Linked DNA regions of Homo sapiens: regions 1 and 2 are each linked to region 3. Evidence: promoter capture Hi-C in human tissues and cell types (Jung and others, 2019). All regions are on one chromosome and are shown on one strand. The core of a region is centred on a gene start or on the middle of the fragment in contact, and the rest is flanking DNA. Distances in the headings are between cores, read along the strand shown. Region 1 holds the start of ZNF776 (zinc finger protein 776). Region 2 holds the start of ZNF417 (zinc finger protein 417). Region 3 has its middle 4.8 kb from the start of ZNF544.

Region 1 (2,982 bases), core at 109-2,608, 480 kb before region 3:
TGGGAGGCCGAGACAGGTGGATCACCTGAGGTTGAGAGTTCGAGACCAGCCTGACCAACATGGAGAAACCCCGTCTCTACTAAAAATACAAAATTAGCCAGGTATGGTGGCTCATGCCTGTAATCCCATCCATAACATTAATTTATTAGGCAAAACACTCCTTGCCATGGAAACAGAAATAAAGAATAGTCACAAAAAAAAAAAAAGAAAAGAAATAAATAAAGTCTGTTTTATCTAATACAAAAAAAAAAAAATAGCCACTTCCCAGCAATAACATGAACTCCTGGATTTAAGACACAACCAATATCAACAGGTGGAGAGCATCTTCTGCATACGTGCCCCACCTTTGAAAACTGCAGCCATTTATCACTACCAAAATAGCATTTCTTTCATTGGTCTTCCTGTAAGATTGATAAATCTTAGATAAATTAATCCAGAATTAATTGAATATAAGTTGGAATCTCAAGCGAGGGATACTAAGTGGATAAAAGTGTTGCTCAATGTACTGGACACTATGATTGATTTTATAGGCAGGAGAGTTGTCTTCTGTGGGAATCACAGACAGAGATTCAGCATGTATTCCTGCTTTAGGGAACACAACATTTCTCCTCTATCTTCCTTGTCTTGTCCTATCTGGATTAGTTCTCTCTTGTCCCTGACAGACTGAGAAACTGACTCTAATGCCTCAGAGTGCATTCATGTGAATTTATAACACAATAATGTTTATCAGCCTCTGCTGCCAGTACCGGGATTTTGCGACTGAAAGACTGTTCAAAACGTTATGATAATTTGGATTTTTAGTCTTTGGGGGCATCCTAAATAATAAGTTTAGCATCGGAGAGCTCGAGTTCCCCAAAATCTAAAATAATATTTTTTCAAATACTTGAGTGATCAGTTACAGACACTAATCTCCAAAAATCTCAATACGGGTTCTAAGGCTAGGTGAGACTATCCTCTACCCTAGAAGGACATGCACTTTAAGGACAGGCCGCTGAGATGGAGCTGGGCCTTTCCTGCAAGTAAGTGAACGTGATGGTAGGGTATACCTGACAGCATAGTTTGACAGGGGATATAGACTTTCAAGGAGAAAATAGACATGAAATAGATACATGCAGAAGTATAGTCAAATTGAGGGAAGATGACACTTAGGCCAGAGTAGTGTTTATTCACCACTCTGTGCAATCAAGCGCCTCTGAGAAGGCCTTCTTTACCGCCTTGGAACTGTCTTGGAACCTGAGGAAACTACATAACCCAGAAATCTCTGCGTCGAATGACAGCGCGTCAGAGCCAATGAGGGCTCAAAATAAAGGCGTTTCCGCGGAAACAGTATAAAGGTGGGACTTCCGGCGTCCTCTACTAGTGGCCATTTTGATTGGTGTTGGGTGTATTTTCCAGTGAGAGACCGCGGAGTGTTGGGTCGTGTAGAAGTGACTGAACCCAGAAGGTGGAGACGAGACGTTGTCCCGACTGCACAGAGGCTGCTCTGCAGCTCCTTAAAGGCGCTAGGCGTGACCCGCACCAAGGCCGGGATCGGGACCACCGTGCCCGGGTACCTGCACTGCTCGCCCCCTCCTTTCGACCCCGCTTTCCCCACCCAGTCGGATGGCGGCGGCCGCGCTGAGGCCCCCGGCTCAGGTAATTGTGGCGTCTTCCGTGCCCTCAGGTCACCTCATCTTTACCTAAGTCCAAAAGCAGAGAGGAAGCGGCGCCTGCTCAAGGTTTTACACCCTGAACCCGGCGTCGGGACACTGAGGCGCTCTCTATGGGCCCCCGTTTTTGACACCCGCGGGATGCGCTCAGGAGAGCTACAGGCACAGGGAGCGGTGCAGGCAAAGGCCTGGAGATGAACTGAGCCGAGAGGATCGTAACCTAGGGTCCACAGGCACCTGTCGGGAGCAAAGTGTGAGGCAGAGCTCCTCCTGGAAGAGCAGGCTGAGGACCGTGTATTCACCCTGAGAACGCTGGAAGCCATGGACAGCTTCCAACAAAGGAAGGAAAAGATCAATGTCCAGGCTTTAAAGGTTTCCCAAAGTCCAGTCGAAAAAGAACACAGGGGATGACTTTTGGGCCCTGGGAGGTTGAATTCTTGTTCAACCTCTACAGATCAGATAGGTGCTAAGAGATGACATTTTGTACTGAGGCGCTCAGTTCAGACAACCAACTCGCGTTTACCTAGTTACAGGGCCAAGAAAGAGTTCAGGGAGGCCTGAGCTTATCAAATCTCATCAGGGATACATTCTTGTAGCTTGTGCCTCTCCTCTCAGGAACTCCTGGCTGCAGAAGCACTTGCAGAACCTCCGCAGGGAAGCGGAGGGTGTTATTCCCTCACTGGCCCTAACTCCTATCCACATGCTCTTTAGATTGGGATGTCCTGGGATTCTTAGGTACCTTTTTTTTTTTTTTTTTAAGTTTTTTGATATGGGAACCCTGGAGGAACCTTAAACCCAGGATCCAAAGTCTGTGACACAGGATATATGGAGGTATTCCCATTTCTGTCAACCAGTATAAACATACTTGGAAGGTTAACCCAGGAGTTAGTACCAGGATGTGAAATGCTTAGAGGTGAAACTGACCAGAGGGAGGAGGTGATGTTGCCACAGTTTCATCTGGCTGTAGTCTCCTCTGGCTGTACAGTGGAGAACAGACTGTGGGGTTGAGAGAGGAGGAAATAAGATGAGAGTTGAGGCTTTTGCCGTAATCCAAGTGAGGGTTAACAGACTAAGATTCATGGCTAAGGAGATGTGGCTGGATTCAAAGTTGATATTTTGTTACAGCATCTAGGTTTCCTAATACACAAAGTAAGGGCATGAAGAGAGCAATCAGGATCCCGAGGTTTTTGGTCTTAGTAGCTGTAGCTATGGAAGCTGCATCAGCTGAGATGAGCATGTTGGTAATAAACATAATTAGAATATTATGCAAATATCAGGATGACTGTTATGGCCATATGAAGAGTCAGAGACGAATAAGTGTAGGCATCAAATG
Region 2 (3,059 bases), core at 1-2,500, 310 kb before region 3:
AATGCACAGCCCTCGGCCTGCTTACTCTTCCAGGGAGAGCTCCACCTCACACTTTGTTCCAGACAGGTTCCATCCTCCCGGCTCCGTCCATCTCCAGGCCATTGCCTGCGCCCCTCCCTGTGCTTGTTGCTCTCCCCACCGCATCCCACGGGTGTCAGAAACAGGTGAAACCGTCTTTGCAAAATTATAACTGAGGAAATTATGACAGTGAAAGAAATCAGACCTTACTGACTCCGTCTTGCTTCCAACCTTTCAGCTGTCCTTGTTCATTCCTGGGTATAGGCTGAATTAACTTAGGGAAGGAATTCAGTTCATGGTTTCACTCTGAAACAAAATTGATAATAGCCCTTTCCTGAAAAGACCCCCTTCTTGCCTGGAGAACAGCCTGCCTTTGCAGGACTAACGAATTAGCTACAAGGTTAGAAATTACCGTTTAGGGGTCATGCAGCTTCTGACTCCAAGAGTCTGAACCTCCCCAAGTTGCTCCTGAAGATAAATCACTATTGTAAAACCTAAGATCAGTGCTTGAGGTATTTTGCAGATCCTGCACTGGATGGATCAGCTGACAACACACAGACCGGTAATCTGGGTCAATCAGTTCTGCCATCCCACCCAGAACAGAAAACAGCATGAAAAACTCACTTTAACCCTCTATGAATCCATCTCAGGTCCCAACCCTTACCGCCAAATTAATGTTGAAAACTCTGATCCCGGAATGCTAATGGAGACTGATTTGAGTAATAATAAAACTCCTGTCTCCAGAACAGCCTGACGGCTCTGCGTCAATTACTATTTCTCCATCGCAATTCTCCAGTCTTCATAAATCGGCTCTGTCTAGGCAGCTGGCAAGGTGAACCCACTGGACAGTTACACAGGGACCCCCACTGGACAGTTACACAGGGACCCCTCCTGCGAGCGCCTCAGTGTTCCTACGCCGGGTACCGGCTACAGACCCGTGAGCAGGAGCCGCTCCCTCGCTGGTTTAGGACCTGGGTGACGATGGGGTGACCTGAGGGCACAGAAGGCGCCACAATTACCTGAGTCGGGCGCCTCGGCGCAGCCGCTGCCATCGGACTACTTGGGGAAGCACGGCCCGGGAGCAGTGGTCGCCGTCACGGGGCTGCAGAGCCGCCTCTGGGCACCGAGGACGATTCCTCTCCACCTTCTAGGTTCAGTCACCGCGGTCCCCCCCCAGCACTCAGGGGCCACAAACTGGGGAAACACCCGCGTCACCGATACACAGCCGCTACTAGAGACCCCGGAAGTCTCAGCCTTACGTTACGTGCACACGTGGAAATGCCTTCTTTCCGAGTGCTCATTGGCTCTGACCGGCTGTCGTTTAACGCAGAGCTTTCTGGGTAATGTAGTTCCCCACTTTCCATGGCGCTAAAAAGAGCGATACCCAGAGTCCATCTGCAGGAAAAGCCCGCCATCAGGTCAGGGGTTCTCCTTAAAAAGCGCACCCTTCTGGCCGGGCGCAGTGGCTCAAGCCTGTAATCTCAGCACTTTGGAAGGCGGAGGTGGGCGGATCACGAGGTCAGGAGATGGAGACCATCCTGGCTAACACGGTGAAACCCCGTGTCTACTAAAAATTCAAAAAAAAAAAAAGTTAGCTGGGTGTGGTGGCGGGCGCCTACAGTCACAGCTACTCTGGAGGCTGAGGCTGGAGGAGAATGGCGTGAACCTGGGAGGCAGAGCTTGCAGTGAGCTGGGATCGCGCCACTGCCCTCCAGCCTGCGCGACAGAGCAAGACTCTGTCTCAAAAAAAAAAAAAAAAAAAAAAAAAAAAAAAAAAAAAAAGGCGCCTTTCTAGGGCAGAGGAGGGGTCTCACCTAGCCTTAGAAGCCGTATTGAGATTCCTGGAGACTAGTGTCTGTAACTAATCACTCAAGAATCTGGAAAAATACTGTTTCAGATTTCGGGGAGCGCAAGGTAAATAATAGGGAGCTCAAGCTAAAACTATTATTTAGGATTCTCCTAAAGGCTAAAAATCCAAATTACCACACCGTTTGAAACAGTCGTTCAGTCGCAAAATACCTGCACTGGAAGCAGAGGCTGATAAGCGTTGTTGTGTTATAATGTGTCTGAAGGCCCTCAGAAGCCTTAGAGTGCCTAAGGCAAATGAAGGAAGTTAGGGATGTGCTCCCCTATAGCAGGAGTGCAAAGCTGAATCTCTGTGATTCCTACAGAAAACAACTCTCCTGCTGATAGAATCTGTGAAAGGAAAATCTTGTGGCCTCAAAATTACTAAGCTAAAGGGAAAAGTCAATCTGGGAACTGCTCAGGGCAAACTTGCCTCCCATTCTATTCAAAGTCTTCCCTCTCCTCACTGAGATAGATGCCTATTCTGATTGCCTCCTTTGGAAGGACTTATCAGAAATTAAAAAGAATCCAACTATTTGTCTCTCTACCTGTCTACCTGTGACCTGGAAGTCCCCTCCCTGCTTCGAGTTGTTCCCGCCTTTCTGGTCGGAACCAATGTACTTCTTACATATATTCACTGATGTCTCATGTCCCCCTAAAATGTATAAAACCAACCTGTACCCCAACCACCATGGGCACATGTCGTCAGGACTTCCTGAGGCTGTGTCACGGGCATGTGTCCTCAACCTTGGCAAAATAAACTTTTTCTTTTATGAGACGGAGTCTCGCTCTTTGGTCAGGCTCGAGTGCAGTGGCGCGATCTCGGCTCACTGCAACCTCTGCCTCTCGGGTTCAAGTGATTCTCCTGCCTTAGCCTCCCGAGTAGCTGGGAGTACAGGCACGTGGCATCACGCCAATTTTTGTAGTTTCAGTACAGACGGGGGTTTCACCTTGTTTAGGATGGTCTCGATCTCCCTCGTGATCTGCCTGCCTCACCCTCCAATGTGTTGGGGTTACAGGCATGAGTCACCACACCTGGCCAGCAAAATAAACTATTTAAATTAACTGAGACCTGTCTCAAATTTGGGGGGTTCACAAATCATTATAGCGTTCAATTAATTGAACAACACTTTTTCCCACTTAGTATCCTTTACTTGATATTCTAACTTACATTCAACTCCTTTTAGTAATTTGAC
Region 3 (3,123 bases), core at 276-2,775:
TGAAATCACAAGTAGCTAGGGAATACAAATTACACAAAATGTTACTTTTACCCAAAATACTGGCAAAATACAAAGGATAATACCCAATGCTGGAAAGAATAGGGACTATTATTCTCACTTTGGAAAGTAATTTGGTAATACCTAAGAGAATCAAAAATACACTTATCCTTCAACTTGTGCAGTCCCACTGGAGGGGCTCTGACCTATAGAAATGAAGGCACTAATTCTGGGTGTCCGGGGGTGTTTACTACAGTATTGTTTATGTTGTGTTTGGAAATAGAGAAGAGTGTGGGAGGTGAATGCTAGGATTTTACACTGAAAGAGGTGCAGATGAGGGGGAAGAAGTAGGCTGGAGCAAATTGAAAGTGATGTCTGCTATAATTAGTTAAGAGAAAATATGAATGTAAGGTTCAATGTATGAAGTTTTTTTTTTTCTTTTTCTTTTTTTTTTTTTTTTTTTAGACAGTCTTGCCCTGTTGCCCAGGCTGGAATGCAATGGCATGACCTTGGCTCACTGCAACCTCTGCCTCCCAGATTCAATCAATTCTCCTGCCTCAGCCTCCCGAGTAGCTGAGCCTCCCGCCACCATGCCTGGCTAATTGTTGTATTTTTAGTAGAGACAGGGTTTCACCGCGTTGGTCAGGCTGGTCTTGAACTCCTGACCTTGTGGTCTGCCCACTTCAGCCTCTCAAAGTGCTGGAATTACAGGCGTGAGCTACTGAGCCCAGCCACAAGGTATGAAGTTTTTCTAGACATGTAAAAGTGAGCATGCACTTGGGCAAAAACGAGAGTCATCCAAAAATGAAAACATAAGATTTAATTTCAGGATGGGAGTCTATGTCATCTTCTATTTGAATTTTCTGTTATTTCCTGAGTTCCAACTTTTTTCCACTCCAGATAATTCATACTATAATATTTCCATAAACCTGGCTCACAGAATAAAAGTTTGAAAAATAAGTTTATTTCAATAATCATTAGAAAAATTATAGTCGGGCACGGTGGCTCATGCCGGTAATCCCAGCACTTTGGGAGGCCGAGGCTGGCAGATCACGAGGTCAGGGATTCGAGACCAGCTGATCAACATAGTGAAACCCCGACTCTACTAAAAGTACAAAAATTAGCAGGGCGTGGTGGTGCGCGCCCATAATCCCAGCTACTCAGGAGGCTGAGGAAGGAGAATTGCTTGAACCTGGGAGGCAGAGGTTGCAGTGAGCCAAGATCGCACCACTGCACTCCAGCCTGGGCGACAGAACGAGACTCTGTCTCAAAAAAAAAAATTATGGAAGTGAAAAATTGTGCAAAAATGAGTGTGTACCAACTTTCTGTCAGAGCTTCACCTTAATCATCTAATAAGAAAGCAAACAAAAGATAAACTGTATAAGCATGCCAACAATAATCTTTATTTCTGCCATGTTTTACCCTTTAATATTCAGAAGAAAAGTCATACAGGAGGAAAATTTTATAACTATAGTAAATATAGACAACTTGAACAACACTAGATCTCTACTGGCCAAAAGGAAAAAACAAAAAACAACCCCCAGTATATCCCTAAATGTACACCAGAGAATCTTAAAAGATAAAATAATTTGGCCAGGCACGGTGGCTCCCGCCTGTAATCTCAGCACTTTGGGAGGCCGAGGTGGGCGGATCACGAGGTCAGGAGATCGAGACCATCCTGGCTAACACGGTGAAATTCCATCTGTACTAAAAATACAAAAACAAAATTAGCCAGGCATAGTGGCGGGGGTCTGTAATCCCAGCTACTCCAGAGGCTGAAGCAGGAGAGTGGCATGAACCCAGGAGGCGGAACTTGCAGTGAGCAGAGATCGCACCACTGCACTACAGCCTGGGCAACAAAGCAAGACTCAAAAAAAAAAATAAAATAATTCATGTGATTATAATAAATTTGAGAAAAACTTCTTTTATAGCTCTTGCCTTTCTCAAAGGGGGAGGACTCATCCTGGAGAGAAACCCCATGGATGTATTCAACATGGTAAATCTTTTTGATGGAGCTCTCACCTAGTTGCACATCACAACTTATACCAGATAGAAAATTTATGAATGTAATCAATGTGGAAAGTTTTTCAGCCTGGTGCTCCCACCTTGTTAGACGTATACTGAAGACTCTGGGAACATCGGGAACGTCAGAGAGCTTTCAGCAGGAGATCTCATCTAATTGGGCAATAGAAAACTCATACTGAAGAAAAACAATTCCATGTAATCAATGTGAGAAATATTTCAGTGACATCCTTGATTTTAATTGGCATCAGGGAAAGTGTAATAGAGAGAAGCCTTATGAATGTAGTCAAGGTAGGAAATCTTTCTATACAGCTCTGGCCTTGTTGCACATAAAATAACTCATACTGGAAAGAAGCTTCGTGACTGTAATCAGTGTTGGAAATGGTTCAGTTAGAGTTCTCACTTGTTGCTCATCAGATAAATCATACCGGTGAGAAACTGCGAGTGTCCTGAGTGTAGGAAATCAGCTGGAGCTGATTACTTATATGGCATCAGAGATTTCACATTAGAGAGAAACCTCATGAATGTCACTGGTGTGGAAAATCCCGCAGCAAGAATTCTCACCTTATTGAACAGCAAATAACTCATTCTGGAGAGAAGCCTATAAATGTAGTCAACGTGGAAAAACTTTCAGACAGAATTATTATTGTGTATGCACCAAAAAATTCATATGGGCAAAAGCCAACATGAATGTCTAAATGTGAAAAAGCCTTCAGGAGACTATCTGACCTTATGGAACACCAGATCATTCATAATAGAGAGAAACTGTATGCATATAATCAGTGCAGAAAGGCCTTTCAGGCAGCATTCTAATCATGTCAGGCACCAGATAACTCATTCTTGAGTCAAACTGTTAATGAACTTTTTATTTATTTTATTTTATTTTTGAGATGGAGTCTCGCTCTGTTGCCCAGGCTGGAGTGCAGTGGCGTGATCTCGGCTCACTGCAAGCTCCGCCTCCTGGGTTCACGTCATTCTCCTGCCTCAGCCTCCCAAGTAGCTGGGACTACAGGTGCCCGCCACCATGCCCGGCTAATTTTTTGTATTTTTTTTTTGAGATGGAGTCTCCCTGTTGCCCAGGCTGGAGTGTGGTGACACAATCTC

The links. Contacts are between HindIII fragments. The study calls those that stand out against the background at their distance.
Region 1: a contact is called between the fragment with the promoter of ZNF776 here and a fragment that was not itself captured in region 3, in 2 of the 25 tissues and cell types used here (IMR-90 fibroblasts and liver).
Region 2: the fragment with the promoter of ZNF417 here is called in contact with a fragment that was not itself captured in region 3 in 1 of the 25 tissues and cell types used here (aorta).

What each region holds. Positions count from the first base shown.
Region 1 is chr19:57,745,457-57,748,438 of GRCh38, forward strand. It overlaps ZNF776 (zinc finger protein 776), which reads left to right and starts at 1,359. Exons shown (of 3, transcript NM_173632.4): 1 at 1,359-1,635. The coding sequence starts at 1,603. RefSeq lists an enhancer at 1,371-1,420. The HindIII fragment of the contact is 15,716 bases long and covers 1-2,982 here.
Region 2 is chr19:57,915,342-57,918,400 of GRCh38, forward strand. It overlaps ZNF417 (zinc finger protein 417), which reads right to left and starts at 1,251. Exons shown (of 3, transcript NM_152475.3): 1 at 1,038-1,251. The coding sequence starts at 1,070. RefSeq lists enhancers at 1,008-1,297, 1,316-2,171, 1,568-1,627. The HindIII fragment of the contact is 14,944 bases long and covers 1-3,059 here.
Region 3 is chr19:58,222,598-58,225,720 of GRCh38, forward strand. It overlaps the pseudogene LOC100419847. Among named protein-coding and RNA genes, the nearest start is that of ZNF544, 4.8 kb to the right of the region's middle. The HindIII fragment of the contact is 6,243 bases long and covers 1-3,123 here.